7 separate regions of the Homo sapiens genome follow, and all the other regions are linked to region 7. The links are contacts of gene promoters, found by promoter capture Hi-C in human tissues and cell types (Jung and others, 2019). All regions are on one chromosome and are shown on one strand. Each heading gives the region's core, a stretch centred on a gene start or on the middle of the fragment in contact. The rest is flanking DNA. Distances are from core to core; before and after follow the strand shown.

Evidence for each region. Contacts are between HindIII fragments. The study calls those that stand out against the background at their distance.
Region 1: a contact is called between a fragment that was not itself captured here and the fragment with the promoter of NRP1 in region 7, in 1 of the 25 tissues and cell types used here (H1 embryonic stem cells).
Region 2: a fragment that was not itself captured here is called in contact with the fragment with the promoter of NRP1 in region 7 in 2 of the 25 tissues and cell types used here (H1 embryonic stem cells and heart left ventricle).
Region 3: a contact is called between a fragment that was not itself captured here and the fragment with the promoter of NRP1 in region 7, in 2 of the 25 tissues and cell types used here (aorta and heart left ventricle).
Region 4: a contact is called between a fragment that was not itself captured here and the fragment with the promoter of NRP1 in region 7, in 1 of the 25 tissues and cell types used here (dorsolateral prefrontal cortex).
Region 5: a fragment that was not itself captured here is called in contact with the fragment with the promoter of NRP1 in region 7 in 2 of the 25 tissues and cell types used here (IMR-90 fibroblasts and hippocampus).
Region 6: a fragment that was not itself captured here is called in contact with the fragment with the promoter of NRP1 in region 7 in 1 of the 25 tissues and cell types used here (lymphoblastoid cells).

The regions. Positions count from the first base shown.
Region 1 is chr10:34,030,820-34,033,619 of GRCh38, reverse strand. No RefSeq gene overlaps it. Among named protein-coding and RNA genes, the nearest start is that of LINC02629, 130 kb to the right of the region's middle. The HindIII fragment of the contact is 4,838 bases long and covers 1-2,800 here.
Region 2 is chr10:34,066,955-34,069,654 of GRCh38, reverse strand. No RefSeq gene overlaps it. Among named protein-coding and RNA genes, the nearest start is that of LINC02629, 160 kb to the right of the region's middle. The HindIII fragment of the contact is 4,166 bases long and covers 1-2,700 here.
Region 3 is chr10:34,237,605-34,240,304 of GRCh38, reverse strand. The region is part of intron 22 of PARD3 (par-3 family cell polarity regulator); the gene reads left to right. Among named protein-coding and RNA genes, the nearest start is that of LINC02629, 330 kb to the right of the region's middle. The HindIII fragment of the contact is 6,470 bases long and covers 1-2,700 here.
Region 4 is chr10:34,327,173-34,329,872 of GRCh38, reverse strand. The region is part of intron 19 of PARD3 (par-3 family cell polarity regulator); the gene reads left to right. Among named protein-coding and RNA genes, the nearest start is that of LINC02629, 420 kb to the right of the region's middle. The HindIII fragment of the contact is 4,130 bases long and covers 1-2,700 here.
Region 5 is chr10:34,048,872-34,051,571 of GRCh38, reverse strand. No RefSeq gene overlaps it. Among named protein-coding and RNA genes, the nearest start is that of LINC02629, 150 kb to the right of the region's middle. The HindIII fragment of the contact is 7,207 bases long and covers 1-2,700 here.
Region 6 is chr10:33,990,933-33,993,632 of GRCh38, reverse strand. No RefSeq gene overlaps it. Among named protein-coding and RNA genes, the nearest start is that of LINC02629, 88 kb to the right of the region's middle. The HindIII fragment of the contact is 3,217 bases long and covers 1-2,700 here.
Region 7 is chr10:33,333,392-33,336,091 of GRCh38, reverse strand. NRP1 (neuropilin 1) reads left to right here and starts at 1,425. Exons shown (of 17, transcript NM_003873.7): 1 at 1,425-1,782. The coding sequence starts at 1,710. The HindIII fragment of the contact is 10,676 bases long and covers 1-2,700 here.

The DNA.
Region 1 (2,800 bases), core at 208-2,707, 700 kb before region 7:
ACTAAAGCAAGACACCATCCTTACAAAAAATAAATTAGCCAGTCATAGTGGTGCACACCTGCAGTCCCAGCTACCCCAGAGGCTCAGGCAGGAGAATCCCTTGAGCCCAGGAGTTGGAGGCTGCAGTGAGCTATAATTACACCACTGCACTCCAGCCTGGGCGACAGAGTGAGACCTTATTTCAAAAAACAAAAACAAAAACAAACAAACAAACAAAATAAAATAAAATTGTTGGGTGGGGGAACCCTACCTGCTTGTAGGACGCCTCCCAAGCATGGTGAGTAATGCCATTTCTAAGAGGCCCATTGCGTCATTCCAGCCCCTGTGGCCACTCCTCATCCCCTACACACCTCTCACTGAAGGCAGGCACGTGAGGTTAGTCACTGCCCCTAAAGAACTCACGTGTCTTCACTCTTCTGTGGCTATGCTCAGGATCTCCCCTGCCAGGAAAGTCTGTTCTTCTGCACTCTCACTTAACCCTGCTTCCTGCAACCCCCCACCCCCACCATACATACCTGGTATCTAGGAAAACCCTAGCTCCCACTCAAAGCCCAGGGTAACATCACTTCCTAAATTAACCTTGACCCTGCCTCCCTCCACCAACCCCACTTCCGGGAACAATCATGCTCGTGGGTGTTATAAGACTTAGGTCTGTTAAAAAACAATTAGACAATTAAATGTCTTTATTTTTATGTATTTATTTATTTTGTAGAGACAGAATCTTGGTATGTTGCCCAGGCTGGTTTTGAACTTCTGGCCTCAAGTCATCCTCCTGCCTCAACCTCCCAAAGCACTGTGATTATGGGCATGAGCATAGACAATTAAATTTAACAGAGCGAAGAACAATTCATGAATCAGGCGGCATTCAGAACCAGAAGAGAGGTCCACTCAGCAGCATGACCAGCAAGCTTTTATAGGATGAACAGAGAAGCGAAGTAGAGAAATCATCTAATTGGCTACAGCTAGGCATTTACCTTGTTTGGGCATGAGGTGATCAGTTGGCTGTCTATGATTGGCTGAAGCTTGGCTGTTTGTAACAGAAAGATATTCCTAAACTAGGTTTTTGTTTGTTTACTTACTAAGTTAGGTTACAGTTTGTTACATAGAAACTCAAAACATAGAGCCAGCCTCACATCAGTACTGATGCTGGTTCCATACTTTGGAGATAGCCATCTTCATCATCTTCATCATGATGAAGATGCATTGAGAACCTGTTAACTAAGCAGGAAGCCATTGGCCTGGTAAACTCATCCTTGCAATAGAGTTGTGCTTCCTGAAAACACATTCATTCCTGAATGAGAATGAAATGTCCTTCTCATTCTGGTCTTGCAGCTGGCATAGAGGTTTGTGTAGAGAAGTCATATAATTGACATTAGTTGAATTTAATGGAAATGATAAGAAAGTAATTCTTTAATGGTTGTTTGTCTATATGGATATATCTTAGGTATAAGATACTTATTGTGTTGTTATCCATGCTTCAAGAAGAATCCAATTAACAGGATTCCAGGAGGTATCCTGCAGGAAAGGCTGTCTAACAGTCTTTCATGAGTGCTTGAAAATCCATGACAGTTTATGTCTTTGCACCAAAACTTTCAACAACCATTTATGCATCTACTATGTGCTAGACACTGCCCTGGCTCTATGTCTACTGTTCCAGTGTAAGTTAGAGGTAGCAAGGAGGTTCAGAAGGAAATGCAGGAAGCCCAGCTACTTTGAGTCCTTTTGCCATTCCTATCCAGTTCACAGGGCCCCAAAAATATTCCAAGGTGAGAGCAAGTTTGGGATTCCCTCCAGGGAAAGAGAGGAGACACCATGGTGCAGAAATCTGTGACTGCTGGCAATGTTGAGCCCAAAGTGAGCTAATGCCTTTGTGCTTCTGAGAGGAAGGTCAACGGAGAGTGGAGGCGAGATTTCTCTTGTGCAGTGTAAGTGGGCAGTAGAAGGAAGAAGTGAGCTTTCACATCCTGTGCTTGGCATGAGGCCTCTGGAAGTGACAGACGTTCCAGGCCTTTTGCTTAAGACCTGATTGAGTCATATTTGGCCAGAGAGAAGCTCTGCAGCAGGGAAAATTTTGGCAAACTTTCATGATCCTTTGCCACAGATGGAAGTCACATTTTCATAGATAGAGGATGGTTAGGATGGGGAACAAGGCTCAAAAACAGAGACTCAAAGCCCATGCATCCACCCTCAAACTCTAAATCCCAATATATCCCTGGCACCCTGCTCTGCACTGTGCAAAAGTCACCATGACTCGGATGAGCACCTTATCCTTAAAGAGTCTGTGTAACACAACGCAGAGAAAAAGGCTAATATGCACCAGCAATTAATCGACTGCTCCAGTGAAGAAAGTTAAGTACTGAAATAAATGGCCCTTCCTTCTCTGGTCTATCACTTGCTTGGCCTGTGGAATATTCTGCAATGCAGGCCTGGGCTTAAGGGGAGCAGAGCCCAAGGGAGACCCCACTTGCACAGCCACACTAATCTCCTGTCTGCCCTCCAGCCATACCTGCCCTCTAGGCCAGATTGCCAAGGCCTGGTTGTAGGGTACAGTCCTATAGGAACATTCCCTGTGCTGGGAGCAAAGCCGGGCAGATGGAGATGTAAGAAGAGAGTAAACATCCATGGGGGAATCCTGCAGCTCAGGACACACACCTGATGGGTCTGAACCTCTCCAGGGACACTTGCTTGTCCTTACAGCCACTGATGAAATAGGAAAGATAATGGGAGAAAAATCACTGTGAACTATTCTGATAACATTTCTGACCCTTCCATCATGCACTCAAACTTTAAGTTCAATCAT
Region 2 (2,700 bases), core at 162-2,661, 730 kb before region 7:
CCTATTTACATTTAAGGTTAATATTGTTATATGTGAATTTGATCCTGTCATTATGATACTAGCTGGTTATTTTGCCTGTTAATTGATGCAGTTTCTTCATAGCATCAATGGTCTTTACAATTTGGCATGTTTTTGCAGTGGTTGGTACTGGTTGTTCCTTTCCATGTTTAGTGCTTCCTTCAGGAGCTCTTGTAAGGCAGGCCTGGTGGTGACAAAATCTCTCAGCATTTGCTTGTCTGTAAAGGATTTTATTTCTCCTTCACTTATGAAGCTTAGTTTGGCTGGATATGAAATTCTGGGTTGAAAATTCTTTCCTTTAAGAATGTTGAATATTGGCCCCCACTCTCTGGCTTGTAGGGTTTCTGCCAAGACATCTGCTGTTAGTCTGATGGGCTTCCCTTTGTGGGTAACCTGACCTTTCTCTCCGGCTGCCCTTAACATTTTTTCCTGCATTTCAACCTTGGTGAATCTGACAATTATGTGTCTTGGGGTTGTTCTTCTTGAGGAGTATCTTTGTGATGTTCTCTGTATTTCCTGAATTTGAATGTTGGCCTGCTTTGCTAGGTTGGGGAAGTTCTCCTGGATAATATCCTGAAGAGTGTTTTCCAACTTGCTTCCATTCTCCCCGTCACTTTCAGGTACACCAATCAAACATAGATTTGGTCTTTTCACATAGTCCCATATTTCTTAGAGGCTTTGTTTTTTTCTTTTCACTCTTTTTTCTTTAATCTTGTCTTCTCACTTTATTTCATTAATTTGATCTTCAATCACTGATATCCTTTCTTCTGCTTGATCAAATCGGCTATTGAAGCTTGTGTATGCTTCACGAAGTTCTCGTATTGTGGTTTTCAGCTCCATCATGTTATTTAAGCTCTTCTCTACACTGGTTATTCTAGTTAGCCATCCGTCTAACCTTTTTTCAAGGTTTTTAGCTTCCTTGCAATGGGTTAGAACATGCTTCTTTAGCTCGGAGAAGTTTGTTATTACTGACCTTCTGAAGCATACTTCTGTCAACTCATCAAGCTTATTCTATGTCCAGTTTTGTTCCCTTGCTGGCAAGGAGTTGGGTTCCTTTGGAGGAGAAGAGGCATTCTGGTTTTTGGAATTTTTAGCCTTTCTGCTCTGGTTTCTCCCCATCTTTGTGGTTTTATCTAACTTTGGTCTTTGATGTTGGTGACCTGCAGATGGGGTTTTGGTGTGGATGTCCTTTTTGTTGATGTTGATGCTCTTCCTTTCTGTTTGTTAGTTTTCCTTCTAACAGACAGACCCCTCAGCTGCAGGTCTGTTGGAGTTTGCTGGGAGTCCAGTCCAGACCCTGTTTGGCTGGGTATCACCAGTGGAGGCTGCAGAACAGCAAATATTGCTGCCTGATCCTTCCTCTGGAAGCTTCATCCCAGAGGGGCACCTGCCTGTATGAGGTGTCTGTTGGCCCCTCCTGGGAGGTGTCTCCCAGTCAGGCAACATGGGGGTCAGGGACCCACCTGAGGAAGCAGTTTGTCCATTATCGGAGCTCAAACGCTGTGCTGGGAGAACCACTGCTCTCTTAAGGGCTGTCAGGCAGGGACGTTTAAGTCTAGAGAAGCTGTCTGCTGCTTTTTGTTCAGATATGCCCTGTCCCCAGAGGTGGAGTCTATAGAGGCAGTAGGCCTTGCTGAGCTGCAGTGGGCTCCGCCCAGTTCAAGCTTCCCTGCAGCTTTGTTTACACTGTGAGCATAAAACCACCTACTCAAGCCTCAGCAATGGCAGACGCCCCTCCCCTCACCAAGCTCCCATGTCCCAGGTTGATCTCAGACTGTTGTGTTAGCAGTGACCACGGCTCCATGGACATGGGACCTGCCAAGCCAGATATGGGAGGGAATCTCCTGGTCTGCTGGTTGCGAAGACCATGGGATAAGCACAGTATTTGGGCAGGAGTGTACTGCTCCTCCAGGTACAGTCACTCAGGGCTTCCTTTGCCTAGGAAAGGGAAATCCCCCAACTTCTTGCACTTCCCAGTTGAGGTGATGCCCCACCCTGCTCACCCTCCATAGGCTGTGCCCACTGTCCAACCAGTCCCAATGAGAAGAACCAGGTACCTCAGTTGGAAATGCAGAAATCACCCATCTTCTGCATTGATCTCATTGGGAGCTGTAGACCAAAGCTGTTCCTATTCGGCCATCTTGGACGCATCCACCAACTTTTTAAACTATCTGTTGTGAATGATGTGTTTCTGGCTGTCTAGAGTCTCAACTTTCTGATCATGTGAGGCTTGGGTGGAGGAGGTACCTCACCTGTGACTAACAATGTTTTAGGGGCCACTTACTCCCTCTCCCTACTTCCTGGATAATGGGGTGCAGGTAGAAGATCCAGGACTGGCAATCAATCAGATGCTCTCCTGGCAATCAGATGAGGAAGTGGGCTGAGTAGGGTGGTTCATGCCTGTTGTTCCACATTTTGGAAGGTCAAAGTGGAAGGAACAACTGAGCCCAGGAATTTGAGACCAGACTTGGCAACAATAGCAAGATGCTGTCTCTACAAAAATTTTTTTTTAAAAATTAGCCAAATGTGATGGTGTGTACCTGTAGTTCCAGCTACTTGGGAGGTTGTGGTGGGAGGATTGCTTGAGACCCAGAGTTAGAAGCTGCAGTGAGCTATGATCATGCCACTGCCTTCCTGCCAAGGTGACAGAGCAAGATGACCCTGTCTAGAAAAAAGAAAGAA
Region 3 (2,700 bases), core at 50-2,549, 900 kb before region 7:
GAAAATAAAATCATACTCTACATAACTCTTTAGTAATGTGCCCTCTTACCTAATAAGTCACGAACATCTTTCCAGACCACGCTGTATTCTCTTACGAGAACATTTTTTAAGTGGCTGCATGATCTTTCATTTTATGGATTTATCTCGATCAAGTTGCTTAACCTCTAAGCCTCGGTTTCTTGGTCTGTAAAAGGGAATCATAATTGTGCCTTAAACAACCTAAAGGAATTAGACGGGGGTCATACGCTAAATCACTGAGAATGTTCCTGTCACATAGGATTGCTCAGTGATTGTTAGCTGCTGCTTCTGTTTATCCAATTTCCTACTATCTTGTAACAACTTAAAATGAACTATGACAGATGTCCATGATCTATCCTATTTCCTGCCAATAAAATATTTTTAAACTCTAAAAATACTCATATTTTTTCATTTTCAGATAATATTATCAAAAGATGGTAGGGTATTTCTACTTAAGGCAAACACCAATTTTTTTTTTTTTTTTGAGATGGAGTGTCACTCCATTGCCCAGGCTAGAATGCAATGGCGCGTTATTGGCTCACTGCAAACTCCACCTCCTAGGTTCAAGTGATTCTCTTGTCGCAGTCTCCTGAGTAGCTGGGATCACAGGCACACGTCACCATGCCCGGCTACTTTTTTGTATTTTTAGCAGAGATGAAGTTTTACCAGGTTGGTCAGGCTGGTCTCAAACTCCTGACCTCAAGTGATCCACCCGCCTCGGCCTCCCAAAGTGCTGAGATTACAGGCATGAGCCACCATACCAGGCCCACAAACACCAATTTTTAAAAACTTTGGTTTTAGCAGAAAGATCTTAGGGGAACCAGGATTCCATCTGAAAGTAGACTTCAGCCCACTTCTCTCAGTCTGTGTCTGCCTCTGCCTTGACACTTCTTCCCCTGAGCCCTCTGCTCAAGGCGGAGGCTCCGCTTTTGGTACTGATGTCCACCAGGCTGTTTCAGAAAGAAGCCAGTGAGCACCCTTCCATCGGCCACCGTGCCTAGAGCTGTTCTCCACATTCTCTTTTTGCTTATCCTCTCAGCACTCAGTGGGCTGCCAGCCTCAGGATGGTGTTAGATTAAAGAAATGGCCTATCAGAGCTTAGTAATTCACCAGTTCTCTTTAAGAATTCACATGACCTTAAATAAAATGTTCGATTTAACTTAAAACAAATCATGTCAAGCATGTAAGCAAACAAATTCCGAAATGGTGAACTGTTTCTCTTATTTTAGATTATTTTCTTAAAATACCCATCTGTATTTGTAATGAAGGTCTATTCTCCTTTTAAAATATGTCAGTGCTCTTAAACTGGTGGCATGAGGAAGAAAAAAAAGTTTAAAATAAAATATGTCAGTGTTAAATTTCTATTCTGAAGTTATGTATATTTAAAACCATGTATATTCATGGCTGTACAGTGCAGTTATTAAGAGCTGGAAAAAATGCTGCTTATTTTTAATCAGGTTGACACAGTGGATTTATTAGGATTTTCCTCCATTTTATGAGTTACTCAGAATCTTTCTTATAGGAGGTGGAGTGAGTTAGAAGAGAGACGTATTCCTTCAGGTTAGAGTCATCTTCCAAGTGAGTGTCTATTCCCGTCACCACTGTTTCTCTGAGATTTTAAAGTGTTCAGCACTGCATGGTTTTTTAAAAAGCATTTCCTGTGATTTTCAAAATATTTTCTTAGGCTTTTTTTTTAAGGGCATGTATTTCTCTTTCTTAGTCAAAACCGATTGTTGGCTACCAGCTTCTTTGTCTGGGACCCCTATGTGTGGGAGATGTTTGGGACTAAGGGAGTTTGTTAGCCCTACTGACATTTGTATTGTTTAAGTGGAACTAGCTATTGAAAAATGCTAACACAAAACCTCAGCTATTCTTTTATTAATGTATTAAAAATTCTGACCAAATTAAAACAACCAGGAGAGCCTTGTTGAGCCTGAATCTGTTAGGCTATGAAATGCACCCTGGGTTTTGAGGAAGAAGTGAGCACATTTATAGCCTTAATTACTCATTTGGGATACTACAGTCTGTTGCCAAAGCCAGTTATCATCAGCTTTGATTAGAAATCAGGAAAGACAGCTGCTGAAATGCAGAGTGAAAAGAATTGTATTGGATTAGAGTGGCGTTCTTTTGAATCTGAAAGAGAAGGAAAGCATCTTTGGGAAACATCTGAATATGCATTTATTTTAATAATTCAATGGCTAGAGGTGGAGTACAGTACATTGTAAGTTGGAGTGGTTTTCATTATTAAATTAAGTGCCTTTGTTTAGTTCATCTAGATTTTCCTATTGGCTGCTGCTTTTTTCTCTTTTTGCTCCATTTTGATGCAATGTTATATTCCTATTTGTGGGTTGAAATATGTCAGTATTCATAAACTAAATTCATGGACCACCCTTCCCATCATTTGGCCTGATGAAACACCATTTACCAGTGTGAAGCCAAGCCAGGAGACGCATATAAAATACTGCATCCAAATGCTAAGTTTAAAAAGACAACATGCTTAATTCCCAATCCTACGTACATGGAGAAGTACTACTTTGAGCTTTATTATTTTAACAATGTAATGTGGGGTTATAATATATATCAGAATAATGTCCTAATCAAATGTCCCTGAGTAAATCAAAATTTCAGAGTTATATTCACTTGTATATGTTCATAGTTTATGTAATCAAAAGATGTGTCAGG
Region 4 (2,700 bases), core at 71-2,570, 990 kb before region 7:
TACATATAATGCGTTTGGGAAGATGAATATTTCTGTCATAATGTAATATGCGAAGCATAACTTAGAGGATTGCTACACTTCTCTCCACCTCCACCTGATTCTCCATCTAAATCCAGGCAGTTTTGTCACTATGATCAGATTCCTCACAACTGGGCCTTTCCAGGCCCAGTTTTTCCCTTTTGGCGGCCTCTCCAGGCCCAGAACTTCCTTAGGTCAGCCTCTCCAGACCCAGTTGCAGCCTCCTGGTGTCCTCTCCAGGCCCACCTCTTCCTCCCGGCTGTGAATATATGCAGCCCATTCTTGCAGGATGAGGAGCATATTTACTATTTTTGCTGCCAAACCTGGTCTCCAAGATCCTGAGTCATATAAGCTTTCGACCCTATTGAGTTTTTTCTCTTTGTAATAATGGTTCCTTGCCATCCTAATCAATATTACTTGACAATTATAGAGCTTGCTTCTCTCTGTCTTGGGTGTATATTTAATCAAAAATTACTATGCTTTGGCCCCTTGATATATATTTTTTAAGTATCTATAATGATGCTTTTGAACTTTTTTCTTGTTCTGGTTAAAATGTTATTTAATTTTCCTTAAAAAATGCAGTTTGCTCTTATAATATTTCACTCATTTCAAATGTAACAGGAGATAGAATACATATGAATATAAGGTATATTTTTAATTCTGTAGGGATAGCCTCCAGAGTGTCCCACCAACATGGACATCTGATTTTGTCCCTATATAAACTTATTTTTTAAAAAACAAAATGAGAAATAACAGTATATTAAAGTTCATTCATGTATCTGTCCTTCAGAGAAAAAAAGTGAAATGAAACACATGGATAGGCAAATTACAATTTGCAAACCAAAGATAAAGTTCTGGACAAGACCTGGGAAATACACGTGTGGCAGGTGCCCTAAAACACGCTGCACCTACAACCACCAAATGTTGTATTTTTCAAAAGTCCTGTTTTTATTATTTTTTGCATACCAGTCTTCTGAACTTTGCATATGGCAAATGAATGGCAACTATTGTAAATTCCAAACTTTTCCAATTTTGGTTGTTGAAATCGTGTTTATAGGGTGGAATGAACACAGAAGTGGAATTCAGGTGACTTGCATCCTCCTCTACATTCTTCTAAGTAATTTGGGATTTTAGTCAAAACTTCAACTGCTTGAGCTTTAATTTCTTCATTTGTAAAACTGAAGATTTGGACTAGATAATTGACTTTCAACTGGTGTGTTGTGATCTCTGGTCAGGAGCAGTACCTCAATGGGTTTGGAGAGTGGGAAAGGCCACCAGTGTCACCTTCCCCCCACCACCACCTTCACAGTTGTTTTACTCACTTCTGTACATGGGGATCCTTTGTAAATTTTAGTTTTTAAAAAGGGTGTTTTTGAGTATTTAGGAAAAAGTTGTAAAAGTTCTGGCTTAGATGGTTTAGATGGTTTCCGAAGTCCTTCCTAGTTTAACATTCCATGATTCTATGTACCCCCTCACTGCCCTACTTCTGGCACGCTAACCCCCTCACCTTTTGCGAGGCCCATGTGGAAAACACCCCATCTATTTCCATCTTGCATTACCAAACACAAAGCTTGGCAAATCATAGAATTAAATAAATGTCTGCCAAATCGATGAGTGGGTGAGTGAGGTATCCCACACTGGACCTTGTATGCACTAGATCTTCAATACTTCAGCAAACTCTTTGTTTTTGTTTAAAAAAAAATTGTCTATCAAATGTGGTGTTACTGCTGGTGGCTGTCAGCTTACATAAAACTGAAGACGCGAAGGCACTTTCTGCCTCCAGCTTTGGAAAGAAGGCTGGCTCAGTTAGCCCTCCTTCGGCTTCCTAACCACACCATTTTCAGCGTCTGGCTTGTGGACCTGCACAGCGGAGTCTCTGGACTTGCTGTCTCTGTGGCTATGCTCCTGCATTTTTGCCCTTCTGGGCTTGTCCCTTAGCTATGTGTCCCCTGGCTGCATGTCCAACATCTTCTATTGTCTGTGCTAAGTGGGCCTCAGGGGAAGTGGGTTCTTTCTTGTCCCGATGGTCCAACTCAGTTACAGCTGCCCGTAGAAATTAAAAAGCCACATCCCCCTTGAACCTGGATCTGAAAAGAGGACCCTCGTCTAGGCAGATGGTCTTTTTGTCACATGGGACATTTCCTGAGGATGCAGTGCACCCTGGAAATGCGTGGCTAGAGACTGAGCCATTGTGGAAAAGCTAGTTATGGAGGTCAGCAGGAACAGAGAGCTCCTTGCACCGTGCTGCAGGCTCTGATTTCTATCATCATGTGGCACTTTTCCTCTTTACAAGTAAGACACATAGGCGTAGGCATGGTTGATTGCTTTTGTCAGTTGGGTCGAGCCCCTCCCCAGTGACTATATTCATGGCACTGAACAGGCTGGCCTCTTCTCAGCAGTGTGGAAATCATGGCATGGGCACAGCAATGGGGCCAAGAGACTGGGGTGGGATCCATGTGGTATCTGGTATCTGTCATCTTCTGCAGCACTTACATTCTTCCTGTGGAGATGGCAGAAGCCAGCATTTTTGTGTCTCATTTAATCCATCTGGCCTCTCCATGTTGTGTGCGTCTGTCTGGATCAAGATGGAGCTTTGTATTCTGGGACCCATTATCTCCGAGGCCCTACCTGTGTTTGACAGGTCAGGGCATTGACAATCTGCTCCCTCTTCTATGCAAATTA
Region 5 (2,700 bases), core at 70-2,569, 720 kb before region 7:
TACATAGTTCAGGGAAGGGAAGGAAGAGGAAGGGCCACACCACATTTTATAATTTGGATTACAAGTCTTTTCTTAGTTGGAAAGATTATCTCAGTTAGTTTGAATCAGTCCCAAACTTGAGCTGGCTTCAACCCCATCCTTAGGATGAGACAGAAGCTTCCGTACTACACTGTGATGCTTTTGCTGTGGTTCTAGTGAAATAGCACCCTCTATTTTCTCTGAGTGGAGCACCAGGAGCAGAGGTTTCCTTCCTAGCTGCACACTGTTCACCAACTGCATTTTGAGTGCTCTTTTTCTCCTCCCTTTTCTTTGCTTCTGTATCCCAAATCCAACAACCAACCAACCAACCAAGCAATCAACCAACCAACAAACCAACCAAGCAATCAACCAACCAACAAACCAACCAACCAATCAACCAACCAACCAGCCAACTAATCAACCAACAACCAACAAACCAACCAACCAAAAGAACTTTCACAACCTTCAATGCTTCCTGCTGATGCAATGGTAAAGGATAATAACACTCTGGTTTTAAGTGAGAAACACACAAAAACCATAGCTCCTTTTCATTCCAAGTGTTACCTAAAAGACTACCATCTCACTCAGCCTCTTCATTATATCTGGCTGTTTCTTTCTTTCTTTCTTTCTTTTTTTTTTTTTGAGATGGAGTTTTGCTCTTATCACCCAGGCTGGAGTGCAATGGGGAGATCTCGGCTCACTGCAACCTCTGCCTCCTGGGTTCAAGCAATTCTCCTGCTTCAGCCACACGAGTAGTTGGGATTACAGGCGCCTGCCACCACGTCCAGCTATTTTTTTTTTTTTTTTTTTTGTATTTTTAGTAGAGACAGGGTTTCACCATGTTGGCCAGGCTGGTCTTGAACTCCTGACCTCATAATCTACCTGCCTTGGCCTACCAAAGTGCTGGAATTATAGGCGTGAGCCACCATGCCCAGCCTCTGACTGTTTCTTGATGTCTCACTACAACCATACCCTCCTTAGAGGAACGCTCTGCTCTTATTGTTTCTACCCCTTTTGGGTGGGCTATTTAAGCATACACGCTTGCCCCCCATAGATGCAGAGACATATGTTATATAAGTGTGAGGAACTGCACCGAAGTCATTATTCCACATCACGTTTCTGCTTTGCTGCCCACCGGCTTCTTGGTTTCTTGGCAACATTACTCATCCATTTCAGAATAAGGCTTATACTTAAAAGCATGGTCCTGGTTCCTTGTATTCAGAAGTGTAAAATAAAAGCAGATATTTGGTAAAAGCTTTCTGCAATAATAGGAACTTTAGACTGTTGTCTTCACATAATTCCTTTCAAAAGCATTACTAACGTATGGGTTAGCATTGATGTAGGCAATGTCGCTTGAAGTGGGAGGAATGATATTTACAAAATTCTCTTAGTTGTTGACGTTAGTTTCCTGGATTTTTTTCTTTTAAACAAACCTTAATGGAACAAATGAGATGACAAAATACGCTGAAAGCATCTGAAACACGAGATCCACCTACACTTAACCTCCAGAAATCATCTCGACAAGCCTGAATGCTTGTTTGCAGTGGGCGTCTCCAAGGCTGACTCACAACTCCTGCTCTGAGCTCAGGACCTCCGCGCTGATCCCTCACACACTCTCATCTTTTGCCTTGATGTCATCCAGCAAGGCTAAAGCAAGCCCCCTCTCAACTGTTCCGAACCCCTGGAACTTCTCTCAAATGAGTTTGGTTTTTGAATGGTGCCTGGAGGGAAGAATTTCCTAGCACTTGATTTACATTATTTTCCTACTGTGCTTTAGATATCATTTTAAAAATTCCATTCACACGACGAGAGGAAATAGTTTCAAGAAAGTAAAGGGGCTGAAAATCTATCTCCTCTGCATATCCCTAGTTCCCACTCTGCCCCACTGTCAATGACTCACAGAATCAGACCAGCAGGCGTGGCCAGAATGACCCTCTCTGGAGGCAACAAAGATGATTTTTTAAAAATTTTTAGTTTTTATGGGTACATAGTAGATGGATATATCTATGGAGTACATGTGATGTTTTGAGACAGGCATAGAGTGCATAATGCATCAGAGTAATTGGGGTATCTATCACCTCAAGCACTTGTCATTTCTTTGTGCAAAGATGATTTTTTAAAAACTAGATGAGAAGGGGATGTGGCTCTTTCAAGTGGCTTCATTCTTCTCCCCTTGTAAACGGCAAATTTGCTTCTCAGAGTTGGACGGAATGTGTTAAGAGTGTTGGGCATATGGCCTTAGTTTTCACTCTGTAGGCCATTGCTTTTCAGGAGAGAAATCTGGGTAGCAAGACAGTGTGCTTCATGGATGAGAAGGTGCCAGCAACTCAGGGTTCTCCTGGCAAGGAGGGGTGGTCGTTCCCAAGCAGGGGAGGTGCAGGGCATTGAGAACATCAGTGCTCAGAGTTCCTTAGGGAAGCTGGAGCCGTAATGTCCTAATTTTTCACAAGGCTAAACTGATAGAATTTGTAGACAGCAAAGTGCTTAAATTAAATCCAGCTCAGTCAAGTATGTCTAGAGATGTCCCTTGAAGAGATGCTTAGAGAAGTGATCAATATGGTCTGATCATGATCCTTAATGGGGCTGGTTTTCAGACTGGTGTGGAGAGAAAATGACTATTGTTTTGAAATTGGACAGCTCATGATGAAGTACCTGTTCTTTGTGTGTGAACCCGCACTCTGT
Region 6 (2,700 bases), core at 80-2,579, 660 kb before region 7:
CCACTGCACTTTACCCTGGGCGACAGAGTGAGACTCTGTCTCAAAACAAAAACAAAAACAAAAAACAAACAAACAAAACTTATTCCTCCTAAATTTTTGTTTGTACCCATTAATCAACCTCTCTTTATCCCCCCACCTCCCATCCTTCCCAACCTCTGGTATTTATCATTCTACTCTCTACCTCCATGAGATCAACTTTTGTAGCCCCCATATGTAAGTGAGAACACATGATATTTGTTTTTCTGTGCTGGGCATATTTCACTTAACATAATGACCTCCCAATTCGAGTAATGATGTTTATTTTAAAGCAAAAAATTAAAATTCACTGGCATTGGATTTTGGGGAGCTAGGCCAATTATTTCCCAGAAATTTTAGAGATTTTGCAATTTAATTTGGCATGTTTTACACCTTTAGTTATAATAATAACTCAAGAAGACAACTTTAGTTATGCAAGCTTGTTTCCTCGGCCTTCTCTCTTCCACACCCTTGGCATGTCCTCCGTTGTAATTCCCATTGTCCTACCCATTTGGGACACATTGTCTGTTGATTGAAAAAGAAGCAATAGCAAATTTGGGAGCCAGCACATGTAGCCTCAGCTCCTAGGTGATCCCTGAGTCTTTTCCTGCAGCCCTGCCTTTGGAACTTCTTTCCTCGGCTTGCGAGTAGTCCTGGAGTATGGGAGAGACTTTGATCCCAGGAAGAAATTTTTTCTACAAGAGCATTACACAGGTAACTTCTCTTTAACACTCTGTTGCTTTTTGCTCTAAGACCAGAAGATGACTTGGAGGATTTTTTTTTTTTTTTTTTGAAATGAAGTCTCACTATGTTGCCCAGGCTGGCCTTGAACTCCTTGGATCAAGTGATCCTCCTATCTCAGCCTCTTGAGCAGCTGGGACTACAGGCACATGCCAGCATGCCCAGCTAACCTGGAAAATGTTTAAGAGTATATTTGTAGCCGCTGTTATTTGAAAACCTTCAGCAAAACTCCTTTGTTAGTAATATACACATTAAAATTACTCCATTTTCCTTTGGAGCCCAAGCCATTCATTGCTTTGCACCCTCTTAGCTATGATTGGCTTCAGGGTAACATACCACCTAGGATGACTCGAGTTAATACAGGAGTTTTTCAGGAATCATGGAAAAAGAACCTCTACCTCTCCACTGGCTTTGGGACTGTGAAGAGAGGTGAATGGAAATCTTGCAGAACTTCAAGTTGAAGAGAGAAACTAGATCCTGAGGACATTATATGAGCCCCTGTATCAGACCTCAACTGGAGCCTGAACTACTCTTGGCTTTTTAAATGATATGAGTCAATAAGTTATCTTTTATTATTTTTCTAATCTGGGATGAATTTTATGTCTCTTCCCACCACAAATCCTAGCTGATCCATTCAGGTGTGATTTGGACAGCAAGCAATGGGGCAAGGACAATTCAATCTCAGGCAATAGACTGTGAACAAAAGTGCAAAGTGTAGAAAATGCAGGGCGGAATTCTCAACAAAATCCCAGCCCAGCTGGTTGCCCTGGCAACAGCCGCCCTCCTTAAAAAAATAGAGAGAGAGAAGAAAATGCAAGGCCTGCTGAGGGTAGGTGGATGGCAACAAATTAGTGAAATTTTAGGGTACATGAACGAGAATAGAAAACAAGTATAGAAATTTTGGTTGAGATTTTGGTCATGGAAGATTTTGAAACCTAGGTCAAAAATTTATTTGAAAGAATAAGAAAAAAGGGGAATATTCTTCTTTATTGTGGAATATTATTCTTCAGAGTAAAATAAATGAATCTAAACTTCATGAAAATTGGTGAATGGATTTAATGAGGCAACTAGGCTGGGCAGAGTAGTTTGACATTTGCAGTAAGGCATAGACCATTAATAAGGTACATGTTGTAATCACCCTACAGAACCAGGATGAATCTTAGCCAAAATTTGACTTGGATGTTGAGACCGATGATGCCACACACACACTAAGAAGGTATGAGAACGTTTTTTTACTCACATAATGAGGCTTTCTAGGGGAGAGTAGAGTGGCTCCCAAGCAAGTCTAAAATTGGCTTGAGAGAACAGCAAAGAAAAGTGGCTTGGAGTTTTTATGGTGGTTAGTGAGTTGGGCAAGAGAAAGGGTTGTTTGCCTATGGTTTGAACTTCCCTCCAAGACCAAAAGAAGAGCACCTGGGATTTTTTGGCCCCTTTCATAGATAGATGGATGTATAGATAGACAGATGAATGGATGGATGGATGGATGGATGGACAGATAAATGGATGGATAGTTAGATGGATGAATAGATAGATGGAGAAAAGGACAGATGGATAGAAGCATAGATAATTGAATAGATAAATGGATGGATAGATTGATAGATGCATGAATAGACAGATGGATAGATGGATGGATACATAGATTGGATAGATGGATGGATAGATGGACGGATGGACGAATAGATAGATGAATAGATGGATAAAAGGATAGACGTAGATAGATGTATAGATGTAAGGATAAAGCTGTTTGACATGTTGTGGATGAGAAGGCTTTGGAACACTCATGGATATACCCTATGGTCAGAAGCTTGGGTTTGAGGTTGAGACATATATTTAGTAATTATCCTCATATACGCCATGGAAGTAGATAAAATGGCCAAAAGGGAAGTATAAGAGAGATAAGATAAGCAAAATGAAAATTTTGGGAGCTTTCCAAAGAATGAAAGT
Region 7 (2,700 bases), core at 176-2,675:
GCACTGACCCTTCTCCGGGGCCTGATCGGTGACCGCAACCTGTTTCTTCCCAGAAATGTCCTTGCTTTTCGCATCTACAAACGCTTCCTGCAGCACTTCTCGGAAAACCCTCGGGGACGGGCCTGGGGGGCATCCAGCGGGCTGGGGGCACGAGCCGCTGTGGGAAGTGGGGGTGGCAGGAGCTCCAGGGCCGGCGTGCACGTTGTCTGTGGCCGGGAGCGGACACTGAGAGGGCGCAGCGAAGAGCACCCCTCCCCCGCCACTCTTTCCCTCCCTCGGGATGCACAGAGAAACGGGGGCCGCCCGACCCCTGATTTCCACACCCCTCCCTAGCACCTGGGCTCCCAGACAAGGTTGGGCGGGGTCGGGCGGCGATTGCCCCCCTGCTTGGAAGGCGCAGCACCTCCCACCCTCCGGTGTTCCCTCTGCCCCAGAGGAACGGGCACCAAATCTCGGGAAACAATGAAGCCTCCGCGGCGCGCAGAGGGCACCCAGCCGCGCGCCCTGATGCGGGCCAGGGAGGCCGCGTGGGGCTGCAGCCCGGCCTCGCCCGCCCAGGCGGTCTGTCTTCGCTTCACACCACAGCGACACTGCTGCCCCTCGCCCGGCTTCGCGGTGCGGCTCCCACTCCAGCCCGGCTTTCCCCTCCTCGCCCTCCAGCTCTGGGCAGGGGCGTCCAGGGGTGCCCCGCTGCTCCCCGCCACAGGTCTCAGGATGGCGCGATGAGGAGTGGCAGGGGGTGACCCTGCGTTCCTCGCCGCCGAGGGCGCGGGCCCCGGGATTTGAAGTTGCGAGAAGCAGCCGCCACCTCCCGGGCGCTCCGCACTGCGCGGCGGCGGGATCTGCGCCTGCAGGAGCTGCCCAGCTCTCCCTCTAGGGGTGCAGAGCGAGCACGCGAGGTGGGCTGGCCAGACCCTGCGGCTGGCACTGACCTCCGCGCCCCTTCCTCCGACGCCCGCACCCACGCGACCGGGGCGCAGACTCCCAGCGCCTTCCTTCCCGCGGAGATCCCTGCAGGGTCTCTGGGAAAGACAGACAGACGGACGGGGAGAGCACTCGGAGGGAAAGTTGTTCCTCCCAGTCTCCTGTCAGGCAATTACAGGCGAGCCCAAGCGGGGAGAGGGGCGGGAGGAAGCGAGGGAAGGGCTCCGGAGTGGGGGGAGGCCGCAGGAGGGGAGGCGGGGGTGCAGTTGGTGAAACTCCTCTGTCTCCCGCTCATCTTTTCATTGCTCGTTCCCCTCCTTCCCGCAGACACCCGGACCTCCCCTGGGCGCCAGCTCCGCGGCTCCAACGGGTCCAGAAACAAGCCGGATTTTTTTTTTTTCTTCCTGGAAATTGGCTTTGGTGTGTGTTGCCCTACCTCCCTCCTCCCCCTCCCACCCACAGCCCCCCCCCGGCCTTTTTTTTTTTTTTTTTTTTTTTTGAGACATGGCCCGGGCAGTGGCTCCTGGAAGAGGAACAAGTGTGGGAAAAGGGAGAGGAAGCCGGAGCTAAATGACAGGATGCAGGCGACTTGAGACACAAAAAGAGAAGCGTTCCTCTCGGATCCAGGCATTGCCTCGCTGCTTTCTTTTCTCCAAGACGGGCTGAGGATTGTACAGCTCTAGGCGGAGTTGGGGCTCTTCGGATCGCTTAGATTCTCCTCTTTGCTGCATTTCCCCCCACGTCCTCGTTCTCCCGCGTCTGCCTGCGGACCCGGAGAAGGGAGAATGGAGAGGGGGCTGCCGCTCCTCTGCGCCGTGCTCGCCCTCGTCCTCGCCCCGGCCGGCGCTTTTCGCAACGGTAAGTGACAGGCAGAGGCGCGGGTGACAGCGGCGCCCCGGCTCCCAGCTGCCCGCCCCGGACCGGGGCTCAGGCGGGGCTTCCCGGGATCAGCCGGGAACAACCGACTCCCGGGCGAAGGAAACTTTTATCTGGGAGGAGAGAAGAAGAAATGAGATCAGGCGGTTTAGAGCAGGAGGATTTCAGGTCTTTGGGCTCCCTCCTGACGTTGATCCTTGGGCTGTGGGGCTTTTCCTTACCTCTGTTACAAGACAGAGCTGTCTACCTTCCCAGATCAGCATGCCAATTATCTTAATAATGTTTCCTCCCAAAGGCAATTAGAAGAGACTCCCTTTCAAAAATCTGATGGCTGTTGAAAGTTAATGAACACTTTACCAGGAGATCTTACTTCCTGGTTCCTTTGCTGCTCCCCTAAGCCGTTTCCTCTGGTGGGTGACGGCCAGAGATATCGGTTTGTGGGTTGATGAAACTCCCTCCCCCGCCTTTGTACACCTTCCGTAATCTGTCTGGAGTATGACTGAAAGTTACATAGTATCAATACAGGAATCTGACATATACAGTGTAAGGCACCAGGATATCTGAAAATCCCTAAGCTAGTTGCAGCTTCCACTTAGCTTTTAAAATCACTCACTGTTAAGTAAATGAAAAACTATACTGGGGTCTAAACAGTACCATGTAACCTAAATAATGTGTTTTAAAATGGGATCTGGTTGTAGGCATGTTTGACTTCACACTGTAAAGTAAGTGCAGGCAAGGGTATGCAATTATCTTTACAGTAAGTCGTCAGCAATTGTTATTAACTAATGATCAAATATTTACTTTTGTCTGGCTTAGATTTCAATCACAGTAATTAGAAGAAAAGAACATCCACTACTTACTGTGGTATATTGTTTTAATAAGAGACCGCAAGTGGAGGGC